3 separate regions of the Homo sapiens genome follow, and regions 2 and 3 are each linked to region 1. The links are contacts of gene promoters, found by promoter capture Hi-C in blood cells and fetal thymus (Javierre and others, 2016). All regions are on one chromosome and are shown on one strand. Each heading gives the region's core, a stretch centred on a gene start or on the middle of the fragment in contact. The rest is flanking DNA. Distances are from core to core; before and after follow the strand shown. Region 1 holds the start of DACH1 (dachshund family transcription factor 1). Region 2 has its middle 370 kb from the start of LINC00348. Region 3 overlaps DACH1 (dachshund family transcription factor 1).

Region 1 (4,555 bases), core at 1,049-3,548:
TGCACCTGCTCGCTGCTTAAGCTACTAACCTTTAAGAAAAGAAAAGAGAGAGAAAGACAGAAAGAAAACACACTTTGGAGAGAAAGAGACAGAGAACTCGAAAGAGAGATCGAGAGAGAGCGCGCTCCGTGGCTTTCCTTCCTAATCTCTCCAGTTCAGCTTCCATTGAGTCTCGGGCAATCGGTCACCTCCCCCTACCGAAGAAAACCTGCTGGTTGCCCTCGCATCTGCCCCGGGGCCACCGTACCCCTTTATTTCCTTTGCACACGCACTCGCTCACACGCGGACACACGCACACATGCGCGAACACACAGACCCCTCCCCTCGGCTGGCTTCCCCTCCGGGCTTCGGAGCTCAAGTCCCCGGAGCCCATCCCCCGGGATGGACCCGGTCTCTCAGCTTCGCGGGTCATTTCCCTCCCGACCTCAAAGTGCCCTCCTCGGGTGCTGGTCCGCTCCCTCGCCTTTCCCAGCGGGGCCCTCACCCGGAGCGCGTCTCCCCGCTCCCCGAGCCCTGCGGAGCAGGTCACGACCTCCCCCCGCCCCCGGGACACCGCTCGGCGCCACAGATCAGCCCTGTCGGTGCCGGGAGGCTGGCCGTGGAACCCAGGTCCTGGGGAGCGCACGAACGCGGACAGCAGCGCTGAGAGGGGTCTCCAGGCGCCCGCGCGCCCGGGGCAGGGGGCTGTGGCTCCAGCAAAGGCGCCGTCCTCCTCCCTCTCGTCCCCTCCGCCCCGAGGCTCGGCTTTCCCACATCCCACAGCAGCCCATCCCCGGGACCCAGAGGGCAAGGGGAGGACCGGGCCGAAGAGCGAGGTCTGGGCAGGGTGAGGTGCCAACTTCTCAGGGGGTCGGGCGCGGCTGGCGAGCCCCGAGCAGGGAGAGGAGAGGGCCGCGCTCGCCGGGGCGCGCGGCTCGCGGGCGCGCAGAGCGAGCGGCGCCGGGAAAGGAGCGAGGGCAGGCGAGCAGGCTGGTGGGAAGGGGCGCGGGCGGCGGGGGCTATCCCCCCCGACTCACCTTGCGTTGGTGCAGTCATTGTAGAGGGTCTCGAAGTCCTTCCTGGAGATGAGTTTGCAGCGGTTCACTCCTGGCTGGATGGCGCCCAGTCCCCTCAGGATGCGAACTTGTTCCACATTGCACACCACCGGCGTGATCTCCAGCCGCTTCAGCTTGGTGTAGACCGTATGCAAGCCCCCCACCAAGTGCTTCAGGAACAGGTCGAAAGCCTGGGGCAGGCAGATCAGCTCGCAGCCCTCCACCGTGAAGGAAGCCACTTTGGCCCCCCTCAGATCCACCATTTTGCACTCATTATTCTGAGGGGTGTTTTCCACTGGGGACGGGGTTGAGTACACGGGTTTCCCGGGGAGGGGGCCGCAGCTGCTGCTGCTACTGCTGCTGCTGCTACTACTGCTGCTGCTGCTGCTGCTGCTACTGCTGCTGCTGCTGCTGCCGGTGCTGGCGTTGATGGGGGTGCTGGAAGCGACGCCGCCGCCAGCGCTGATGCCGCCGCCGCCGCCGCCGCTGCCGTTGCTCGCGGCCGCCAGGTTGGGGTTGCAGTTGCTGCCACCGCCGCCGCCGCCACCGCCGCCTCCGTTGCCGCTGCTGCCGCCGCCGCCTCCGCTGCCGCCGCCGCCGCCGCCGCCGCCGGTAGAGGTGACTGTGGCCGCCGCCGCCGCCGCCGAAGCGATGGGCTCCGGGCGGAACAGAGTTGGCCCAGAGGACGCCGGGGGTCCGATGGAAGGAGCCGGAGACGAAGTCGCCGAAGAGGTGGAGGTGGTGGTGCCAGAGGAGGAAGCAGACGTGGAGATTGGGGGTTGAGGGGGGACCAGCTGGGTCGGAGGGATCAAAGCCGCCGGCACTGCCATGGTCACATATAAGGGGAAACAGACGGAGGAGAAGCGAGAGGAAAAGTTGCCACACACCCCCGGGAGGGGAAGGGGAAAAAAGGGGGGAGAAGGAGCGAGGGGGGCAACAACAACTCCGGGAGAGAACGAGAAGGAGAAAGGGAGAGAAGGGGGAGAAAAGGAGGTGAAGGTAATAAAGAGCGAGCGCAAGAGGGGCGAGCACGAGAGGCGCTCTGGAGAGGAACGCACAAAAGTGTCCCGCAAGTCGAAATGCGAGTCCTCTCCGGGGGCTGGGATCGAGGGCTGGTTTGGGGGTGGGGGTGGGGCGGGGAGGGTCGGCTGTTGTTGTGTGGGTCTCGCTCTAGCACAAAGTTAAGGATGAAGGTGAAAAGGAGGAGGTTTGAAGGACTTGGGCTCTCCCTGGCAAGTACATTGATCAAAGATTGAGAGGGGAATGACAGAGAGAAAATGAGCTGAAAAGTGCAGGCTGCCGGCTGGACGAGTTGTTGTTGTCACACGGTGCAGAGGGGAGGAGCTCCGGAAACTTGAAATACCCTTTGAAGCCGCAAAAACCTCACTCACTAGTATTAACCCAAATTATCCAACCAGGAACTCGGAGCAGAGACTCCGAGAGCGCGAGACACTGGAGAGGGAGCGTGCGAGGAAAGGAGGAGGGGAGGGGGAGGATACGGAAAGAAACTGTGGGAGGGACGGAGAGGAAAAGCCGGGGACACAGAAGTGGCGATCGGAAAAGGAGAGGGAGATCATCTACTTCTCTTCTACTACTACCGTTAGATTGCATGTCTCACATTCCATTTCGTCCGCGGGGACTGGTAATTTTTTCCAAAGCTTCTAAACAATCGCCCGCCAACTTAAAGAGGAGCCTGAGCGCGCCGAGCTCTCTCCTTCCAGGATTTAGGATCCATCTCCACGCGTTTTGGCAATGAGCTAGAAACGAAAACACAGCCCCCACTTCACGATTATTCAGAAATTATTTTGAGGAAAATTCACATGTAAGCAAAGCGTAATGTTCTTTTGCATCTGATTGTTTATTTCTCTACTAAATTATTTATTTATATAAAGATAGTGAAAATTCCAGGACAGTTTTCAAGTGGTGAGAAGAAAGTCAGTCCGAAATCGCTTAAGAATAATGGAAAGCTCTGTATTCAATTCCATATTTCCTAATAGGTTGTGGAAAGAAATGCTTGCCTTGATGTGGATGATTTAGAATAACTTCACTGTCTCCCCAAAAGCCAGTCAGAAATACCTGTTAAACCTAGAGCTATCAAGGAGATAAGGTATCCTTGAAGATTTAGAAAGTGGAAAAAGGGTTTTCTTACCCAAAACTCTATAATTAATTCACCTGTCTTACACAGTAACCAACTATCCTCATGTCCTTTAAGACCCAAAGCCAATTGCTAATGTGTTTTTTGGACAACACAATAGTTTTTTTTTTTTTTTTTTCATGTTTGAAAAGTGCTGCTGTAGTTTTGGAAAGTCCTTTTCAATTTGTCAGTAAATATATGTTTTGTAAATAATGGGAAGAACAAAAACAAAGCTCACTAGTTGACTTGTAAAGACTTGGGTAGCTGTGCTTAAAACAACATGAGGCTGAGTTTAGACTGACTCTATTCCTCCTTTCCTTCCTCTTTCCTTTTCTTTTCTTTTCTAACTTGTTGCACTGAAGTATTTATTCAAGGATTTTTGACTAACATATCATTTGAATATGGGTCAAATCTATTTGCTGCTCATGTCTCCAAGTATCTTCAATTAGTTAGCCTTTGAACCGGTCCACACATGTTCAGTAAGTTCATAAGATATGAAGCAATGCTTTAGCATTTGACAGATTTTTAAAATAAACTGTTAGTAGCAGGTTCACAGGGTTGGGAAATTTTATAATAAAATTTTTGCCATTCTGGTGTTGAAATGATCACATTTCTCTATATCATTTTAAGCCTTTGAACTCTGTGAATCGCAGTGTCAAATAGTGCAGGAACTGTCTACCGAAAAATAGAAATATGACACTATGGACTAATTAGTGTATGATTATACTAAAATTTTTGGGACATAGCAGTTAAATCAGGAGGCTTTCCTGGGAGATAAGAATTCAGAAAATCGATTGTTGCAGAAAAGTCCATGAACTTCTGCAAGGACAACTAAAGTTTAAACAGTTGTTTGGCCTGGTTAACCAATGTATTGTAATACATTCAGAAATAATTTTTATTTATGTTTCAGTCTTCAAATTTGTTATGGGTAAAAGTAGGAATTCAATATATATCACATACATCAAAACACTTCCTTAAGTATTTTTGCATGTTTTAGAAAATATTACTTTTTTAAGACATACCAAACTACTATTATAATGAGGGGAGGGGAGGAAGAAAGTATTAAGCCCTGAAAAGCTAATTTTATTTTCGAATTCTATGCCTAACTTTAATAAATTTTGATATGGTTTTAAAAGACTAAACTATAGTCTCATTATTTTAAGTTCTAGACCCACAAATGGAAGAATGGGAATTAAATGCCGAGCATCTGCCATTACCATTCTCATTTTTTACATTTCCTTAAACTATCACTCACCCAATACCTGACACATTCGGAAGCTACAGACAGGAGGTAATGATAGCAGCCCAAGCCATAATCCCACCTTGCTTCGAAGCAAACTCCAAATTTTCTACTGCAGGGAAACCTTTGCCTCCGAGCACGTGCTCC
Region 2 (4,555 bases), core at 1,095-3,594, 490 kb before region 1:
TTTCATAAGAATAAGGTAAGAATGACTCCCAAATGCATAACTCACCCCTGAAGCATGAACATCCTTCTGTGTTCTCCCATTTCAGGATGTTTGTAGATTTAAGATATCCAACCTGCCTACAGTTTTCTCCCTGAATGTTACATAGGGGAAACTTAAAAACCACAATCCTTGGTCATTGTCTTTTTCCTCCCAACTCTTAGGATCCCCACATCACAAGCTAATCAGGCAGCAGATTTGAATTCCCACTACTATGCTAGATTCAGTAAAGAAATACAATAAAAGTCAGATACATTATGCTTGTTTTCAAAAATCTGGCTCTTTAAATTAGGATATAAAACAATATAGATGAAATATTTGGAACTTGGTAAAGAGCTTAACTCTGTAGTATCAATTGCTCCTTGGTTCTGAAATAGCTTTAAGGAAAATATTGACTTGACAAGCCCGGAGGGAGAGGCAGCCCAAGGAACAAAGCAGAAAAAGAAGATTATTTCCAATAATTTTTTAACACATAGGAGGGAAGGGACAAAGAGACAAATCTAGAATCTCTTTTGACTAAAGTGAAAGGTTATGTATTAGTTGGTTTTCACACACCTGATAAAGACATACTCAAGACTGGGTAATTTATAAAGTAAAATAGGTTTAATGGACTCACAGTTCTGTGTGCTTATCATGTCAGAGGCAAAAAGCACGTCTTACATGGTGTCAGGCAAGAGAGAAATGAGAACCAGGCAAAAGGGGTTTCCCCTTAAAAAACCAACAGAGCTCATGAAACTTATTCACTACCATGAGAACAGTTCGGGGGGAACTGCCCCCATCATTCAATTATCTTCCACTGGGTCCCTCTCACAACACATGGGAATCTGGGGAGCTATAATTCAAGATGAGACTTGGGTGAGGACACAGCCAAACCATATAGGGTAAATATTGCCAAAAAGTGATATAAGAAGAAAAAATAATTGGTAAGTGAATGACTCACTTGCCAAAGTGAAGATTTGAAAAATCTTCAAATTTAATAAAGAAATAGACTCACTGACATAAGCAGTCACTACATTTTGTTAATTACATTCAAGAAAACTAAGCACTATCATAAATTATCCTGATATAGTATTAGATATTTAAATTTGGATAGTGAATAGTATAAATGCTATAATTACAAATAAATCTTTTTCTAGAATATGTCTTTCAATTTCCAATACTGAATTTCCACTGATTATTTTACATTTTTAATGTTTAAATTAAATTTTAATTTTTATCAATATAAGATATGCATCCTTATAAAAGAGTCTATATATTTCATTATCTTGTAAATTTATATATGTATATATGTATATGCCAGAACTAACCCCATCCCTCCCCAAACTTGTTTCCTATTAAGAAACAGAATTAGCCAGGTACAATGGCTCATGCCTGTAATCCCAGCACTTTGGGAAGCTGAGGTAGAAGGAACACTTGAGCCCAGGAGTTCAAGATCACTGGGCCAACCAAATGTGACCCCCATGCCTGTGGTCTCAGCTACACAGGAGGCTGAGGCAGGAGGATCCTTTGAGGTAGGAGGATCCCTTGAGACCGCAGTGAGCCACATTCCTGCCACTGCATTCCAGCCTGGGTGACAGACTCTGTCTCAAAAAAGAAAAAAAAAAAAAAAGAAACAGAATTAACATTGAAGCAGTTAATTTTAGTGTTTGGCTACACATTACAAAATAATATGTTTTTGATGTTGTGATGTCTTCTTTTGAAAATCTTATATATTATCTTTTCACCTCGTTTTTAACTACCTTACATCAAACGAGACGTTCGAATATACCTTTAGCCCTTTTACTCAGTTTATATTGCTCCTTTTGTAAAATTAACATTATTATTGATCTATACAAGTGCTACCTATAATTGTACCATGTGGCATAATATGACTGTGTATGCTTTCTTGTGTTCTTTTTATCTTTCCCAGAATTAGTAATTCTCTAATTTACTCGGATAACCTTTTATCACTAAGGCATCTCAAAACTAGACAACAGTATGTAAGCTTCTTTCATATGTGATCAAACATATCTGGTATTGTATCAGTTTATTTAGTTATTTATTTTTTAAAGACATCTCTGCTAGAGCTGCAATTTATTTCCCGAATTCGATCAGATTTTTCTAGGCCTGCTGCCAGGCTTTCATGCTAAGACTCCCACTTGCCATTATTCTAGGAATTTGCTTTGTTTTTGTTCTATTCTAGATTCTATATTTCCTGGAGTTAATAGATTCTTATTTTTTAAGTCAACCTTATTGAAGGATAATTTATGTACCATAAGATATACCATTTTAAGTATGCAGTTATACGACTTTGACAAATGTGAGCACCTTTGTCCTTCTTTTTTCTTTTTAAACTCATGGTTCTGTTTTTTTATGTAAGGAAACACCCCTAAATTAAATGAGATATTAAATTTAAGTACCTGAAAACAAAAAATTATTTTTTCTCACATTTCATCAACTGATAAATATATAATCTTGTTTCATATGTGTTACAGTTTAAAAACATTTAATATATGTTGTTGATTCATTAACATCGAAGTCACTGCCAAAAGCACTATAACTTGACCGAATGAAGCATATCTAGCACAAGTATTTTCTCCCTAAGGCACATCACAGACTTCTCTTGCTTGGGAATACTTTATAGCAGTCGGTACAAAGCTTCAGTGCCATTTTAAACAGCACAATTACCAACAAAAAGTGCAAAAATGAGAAAAAACATGAGTAAATAGAACATGAAAAGGACATTTGTTTACAGTAGGAGAGCTGTAAGAAGTCGGAATATCGCCTTGTTCAATCCAGCTGGAAACATGCACATTTATTAGGCAACTCACATTTCTCTCTACTTTGTGCATTTCTATGAAAGACAAGAAAGCACAGCGAGTATTGGTTTGAAGTTGTAAATTAATTTTAGTGACTAGGCAAGTTTGCAAGTATGGAATTCATGAATAACAACAATAGAGTGTGTGTGTATATACACATATAGAATTCTTTAAAAGATTTGTATTCTTTGCTCTAATATTTTGAGATTTGAAGAGTCTATAACTTAGTATAAATCTTTTTTTAGGGTCCAATTATTCAAAATAACTCAGTGTTTTTTCTTTGGTTTTGTTTTGTAAAATTTTCTTGGTAATTTCCTCCTTTGCATTTCTCATTATCATTCTTAAACACTTACTAATAATCAATAAGTCCTCCTGTATTGATATTCTGATTATCTTTTCATTTCTTTCAGATTTCTCATTTTTTAGTTCTTTTCTCCTAATTTCCAGTAGAAGTATCAACTTTCTTTCCTAAAATACCAGTGGAAAATTTTATTTTACTACTTTTCTATTTCCAAAAGCTTTTTATTTTCTAGTTTTTAAAATGTTATAGCATCTTATTTCTATTTTATTGATGAGTATTGGACTTTATTTAGATGAGGATATACATTATAATTTCACTCAATATTTTGTTTGTGTTTTCTGCAATTGATTTTTGTGGGGTTTTTTGTTACTTTACTTTTGTCTCTTTTTTATAGAAGTTTTCTGTAACTTATGCATCAGGTGACTGATGATGACCTGTTGTTACATTTACAATGTAAAAATTAGTCATCAAAAGGTGTGCATGGTAGGAGTCTGTAGGCTGGTAGACCTTACCAGGGAGTAAGTGTGTGGAGATTTCATTGTTTCCTTAAGGGACTTCCAAATATCTGCCTTGATAGGCCTGTTATCTTGGGCTAATAAATTTCTCAGAGAGGAAAATTTTAGACTCCCCTTTTTCTATATAAGGTGGATGGAATTGAGAAGGGGTTAAAAAAGTTAACAGTAAGAGCATTTTTAAATTTGAATAGACTCCATCTCAAATATCAAATATTCATTTTTGAAATTGTTGATATATTTATTTTACTTGACAGATAAAATTATATATTTATCATGTACAACATATTTTAAAATATGTACATTTTGAAATGAATACATTGAGTTAATTAACATATGCATTGTCTCCCGCATTTTTAAATTTTTTGTGACGAGAACAATAAAAACCTACTCTTTAAGCAATTTTCATGAGTTCCATTGATTGGTATTAACTGTAGTCACCCTGTTGTGCAACAGAACCCATGAACTTATTTGTCCTATCTAAGTAAAATTTTGTATCCTTTGATCAATGTCTTCTCAAACTCATCCCATCACTCCCTCCCCAAGTCCCTGGAAACCATATCCCACTCTGCTTCTATTTGTTTGACTTTTTTGGATTCCACATATGAATGAGATCATGCAGTATTTCTCTTTCTTGCCTGGATTATTTCACTTAACATAATGTCATCGATTCAAACATGTTGTCACAAATGACAGAATTTCCTTTTTTTTAAGGCCTAAATATAGCATTTCATTGTGTATGTATACCACATTTTCTTTATGCATTCATCCATTGATGGACACTTAGATTGATTCTAAATCTTGGCTATTTTGCTATTGTGAATAATGCTGAAATAAACATGGGAGAGCAGATATCTCTTTGAGATGTTGTTTTCATTTCCTTTAGATATATATCCAGTAGTAGGATT
Region 3 (4,555 bases), core at 1,381-3,880, 380 kb before region 1:
GCCCCCAGGGCCCAGAAAGTGCCTACTATATACTAGATTTTAAAATTTCACAAATAGCAATTATAGTACTGCTACATTTTTCTTGAGATACGTAATATATTTAAGCGATCTAAAACTTGGTTTAGTAGTGCATTACTTTTTAAAAAGCCATTCAAGATGGTTGTAATAAACTCAGGATAACTTCTAGGAAATGATTAGACAGCATAATAATTTAAAAGAACATATGGAGAAAGCAAAGTTTATTCATACAACTAATGGTGAATATATAAATATGTATATATTTTGACATACTGTATGCTTTTAAAAATTAGCAGTATTTTAAGGTTCTTGAAAATTAGATATGGAAATATGTTAAACATATAAAAAGCATTCTCTGTTTTCTCTCCTAAGATACTTTGAAACAGTTACTAGTAAAAATTAGAGCTAAAACTTCTCTTCAATTCAGCAATACAAAATGAGTTTTTGAAGTAGAAGATATTTTGCCTTGGTCTGTGAGTGTCAGAGACTGAAATTTTCAACTGAAGTTAAAATGAGATGAAAGTTGATGTCATTTGTAGATGTACTCTAGGATGTGACTCCCTTGCAAGAAGACATTGTGAGCAGTTCGAATCAGGAATTTCTACTCCAGCTTGACTTGTAAGCGCAATAGACAGATAGTTTTACTTCAGTCTACCAATATAGTTTATAGCATTGCTGTAAGCCAATTTTATTCTCTTTTGACCACATACAAATTATTCCATATTTGCTATACCTGACCCTGAATCTCCTGGTATAATTCTTGTGATATGAAACAAGCTGAAGAAAGATTTCTCCGTGGCAGGTTGCCCCTCCCCACTCTTTTGTTTAACAGTAAAACATAGCTGCTAAGGAAACTGCCATCTTAACTCAATTCAACAACATTCCTGTGTAGGCTTCTTCTTCGTCAGGAACAAACAATTAGTAACAAATGAAAGAGATCATTACATCAAGTGCCCTTTTAGATCACCCCAATTAAAACTTTAGCTGTATTTTAATTCTAAGATACCAAATTCTAATTTTCTGCTCTGATTGCTCTTGTTGACTTATCTTTGAAAGATGTACTCTGTGTGCAATGTCTAGAGATTATTTAGCAAGATGCCAATGTTGGCACCACTTAATGTGTTGATTGGTTGTATTATCAGTAGCTGTTTAAAATAAATTACTATTAAACTATTATTGTCCTTGGCTGACAAAACACAATATTTTGGTGTTATTTAAATGTGAAACAATCATTATGAATAAACATGTTGAATAATGTTAAACTGCAACTCTAATTTGTGTAATTTTATATTAATATTCGTTGTAAAGAATGAAGTTGCTGAGAGCATTTATGTTTACTGTTTCCTTTTGTTACAATTGCTGCTAATGTGACTAATGGTAATACATTACCTATTCCTGCTGATTATGTCTGAAAAATATTAGCTTTTAGGATCCAATACTCTCTGGGACTACTTATAAGCTATATAAAATTAAATGTAATTTTTAGACTTTGTATCAGTGCATATCAGTAGGAGTCCAGTGTGAACAAAAATCTGTACTAGAGCCAAACTGATGCATATGCAAAAGTATGTTACCGCCAGTGACAGCTCTGCTTCAAAAAATACAGAAAACGGATTAAATTTCAGTGCAGCAGGGGGCTGGGAAAAGCAATAGGATGTAGTGTTCAGAACATCTACAAATCTTTAGGACACCATTGTAGCCATCAATGATAATAATACTTTCAGATTTGTGTAACTTCTGTAAAATTTCCAGGTTGATCACGTGCAAACGGTCACGTTAAATGCTGCATCTCACTTGGACATGCAATATCCAGAAAATGCTGTGGCAAAAATGTGAATGACAAAAAACGATAGAAGGTTTAAAGCATGATTTTTTCTCCAAGGGGAGGATGGTTCTTAGGATACTGAAGTCGGTTAATGACAAGTCTAATGAAATACATTTTAAGTTTATGCCACAGCAATGGTGAGAGACAATAGTTGATTGACCCCAAATTTTTTTTCTGAGTGAGACATAATGGTTGTTATACTACATAAATGTCATTGTTTTCTAAAATAATCTAATTTGTAAATTATTTTCATCATTTTTTAGAGATTGAGTTTTTTTTTTAAAGGGTACTGTATCTAGCAATGTTTCTACAGTTGATACGGCTTAGAAAGTACAATATCTGTCTATATAAGAAGACTTCAAATAATACTGCTAAGAAACATTTCTTAATAACCTAGCTAGATCCTGGAGGAGAAGCTTACTTGATCCATGTTTGTATTTAACATAAATTTATTTCAGAATCAGACAATATCTAAGGTTTCTCGAGTGTCACTGAAACTCATGTGATAAAATTTGTTCTCAATAATGTGTTGCTTCTAATGAAATTAAAACACCTTAGTTGAAGAGGATTTTAGCAATCACCATCCTAACCAAATACTTTTAAAGATGAGAAAACCAAGATGCAGAAGAATCAAGAGACTGACTGAAAATCCCAAATACTGAGTTGAGTGTGCCTAGATCAGAACTGTCCAGCTACTTAGTCTTCTTTATTATTCTTTTAATGTTTCCCTGGTCTCTTTTCAGGGAGAAAAAGAATAATGTCCCTTGGAATCAGGAACTTTTGTAGACCAAAAAACAAACAAATAATCAATAGTACAGTATCAACTGACAGTTTTTTTTTTTTTTTTTTTTTTTGAGATGGAGTTTCGATCTTGTTGCCCAGGCTGGCGTGCAAATGGCGCGATCTCGGCTCACTGCAACCTCTGCTTCCCAGGTTCAAGCGATTCTCCTGCCTCAGCCTCCCAAGTAGCTGGGATTACAGGCATGTGCCACCATACCCGGCTTATTTTTTTGTATTTTTAGTAGAGACGGGGTTTTGTCATGTTGGCCAGGATGATTTCAAACCCCTTACCTCAGGCGATCCACCCACCTCAGCATCCCAAAGTGCTGGGATTACAGCGTGAGACATGGCGCCCGGCCCAACTGACACATTTTCAGAGAAGCTTTTGTAACAAAATATAATACCATACTCTTTAATGCTATGATTATTGTCCTGCAACGCCGATGTATGACAGGAACAAAGAAGAGAAGACTCATAATATATAATTACGATTGAAAATAAAAACATATAATGTAGGGCCAATATATTTGATATTAGCTTCCCCATATTTTGAATTCAACGTCTATTTTGTTGGGGTTTATGCAAAGTCTTCTCCTAATTAATATTATATATAATTATATATTATAATTAAATTATGTATCAATAATTAAATTATGATTAAATTTAATGTTACAGTTAAAATTATTATATTTATATAAAAATTAATATAATAAATAACAAATAATACCTTATAATAAATAATATATTAATATAATATAAATGAATACATAATAAAATTATAATTACAATAATTTTTATAATTATAATTTTATAATTAAATTATAATTAAAATTATATATTAATGTAAATAAGGAAACTATTATTTTATTTTAAAATATATTGAAAAGTAAAGTAAAATTATTGGCCATGATATTGAAATGTAAAGAACTGAAGATAGATAATCAGAGTACAGTCATTCACCTCCATAACAACTTTTTGGTCCGCAAGCATATATGATGGTGGTCCCATAAGATTATAATATCATATTTTTACTGTACCTTTTCTATGTTTAGACACACAAATACTTGCTATTGTGTTACAGTTGTCTACAGTATTCAATATAGTAATCTGCTATACAGGTACATAGCCTAGGAGCAATAGGGTATACTGTATAGACAGGTATATACTAGGCAATATCCTCTAGGTTTGTATAAGTGCATTCTATGATGTTTGCACAACTCTAAGACTGTCCAATGATTCATTTCTCAGAATGTATCCCCAGCATTAAGTGATGCATGACTATAGTTCAGTCTTATACTTAATTCTTTTTCATTTTCTTCCCACAAACACAGAAGTAGAGAATAATTCCTCCTAGATACCATGGTTGGATTATGTCCATTTACTAGGCTATAGTGAATCAATCTGGAGCTGCCATTTCTTGTGTGTGTATGTGTTTTTAAGATAGGGTCTCACTCAGTCACCCAGGGTGGAGTGCAGTGGTGCCATCATAGCTTACTGTAGCCTTGAACTCCTGGGATCAAACCATCCTCCTGCCTCATCCTCATGAATATTAATAGCTGGGACTGTGGGCATGCCCCATCATGCCCAGCTAATTTTTGTATTTTTGTAGAGGCAGGGTCTCCCTATGTTTCTCAGGCTGGTCTCAAACTCCTGGCCTCAAGTGGTCTTATTGCCTCAGCCTCCCAAAGTGCTGGGATTACAGGTATGAGTCACAGCACCCAGCCAAGCTGAAGCTATTGTGGTTTTAACATATGTTTTAGGTCTTTCTTGTTTGCTTAATTCTTCCATGTAGGTAGACTATAGTGAACCAAACTCCAATCATATATCCCCTCATGGCAAATATCTTCAATGCTAACCTCACTCCTAACTAAATTTTATATTCTCTACTTAAACTTTACATTTTCACTTTTTAGTTATTTAACTATTCTTATT

The links. The method cuts DNA at HindIII sites, captures the fragments that hold promoters and counts their contacts. A CHiCAGO score of 5 or more calls a contact.
Region 2: a contact is called between a fragment that was not itself captured here and the fragment with the promoter of DACH1 in region 1, in 1 of 17 cell types (M0 macrophages). The highest score is 5.0, in M0 macrophages.
Region 3: a contact is called between a fragment that was not itself captured here and the fragment with the promoter of DACH1 in region 1, in 1 of 17 cell types (endothelial precursors). The highest score is 6.9, in endothelial precursors.

What each region holds. Positions count from the first base shown.
Region 1 is chr13:71,864,906-71,869,460 of GRCh38, forward strand. It overlaps DACH1 (dachshund family transcription factor 1), which reads right to left and starts at 2,299. Exons shown (of 11, transcript NM_080759.6): 1 at 1,017-2,299. The coding sequence starts at 1,864. The HindIII fragment of the contact is 4,223 bases long and covers 1-2,690 here.
Region 2 is chr13:71,379,667-71,384,221 of GRCh38, forward strand. No RefSeq gene overlaps it. Among named protein-coding and RNA genes, the nearest start is that of LINC00348, 370 kb to the left of the region's middle. The HindIII fragment of the contact is 653 bases long and covers 2,019-2,671 here.
Region 3 is chr13:71,480,120-71,484,674 of GRCh38, forward strand. All of the region lies in intron 7 of DACH1 (dachshund family transcription factor 1), which reads right to left. Among named protein-coding and RNA genes, the nearest start is that of DACH1, 380 kb to the right of the region's middle. The HindIII fragment of the contact is 746 bases long and covers 2,258-3,003 here.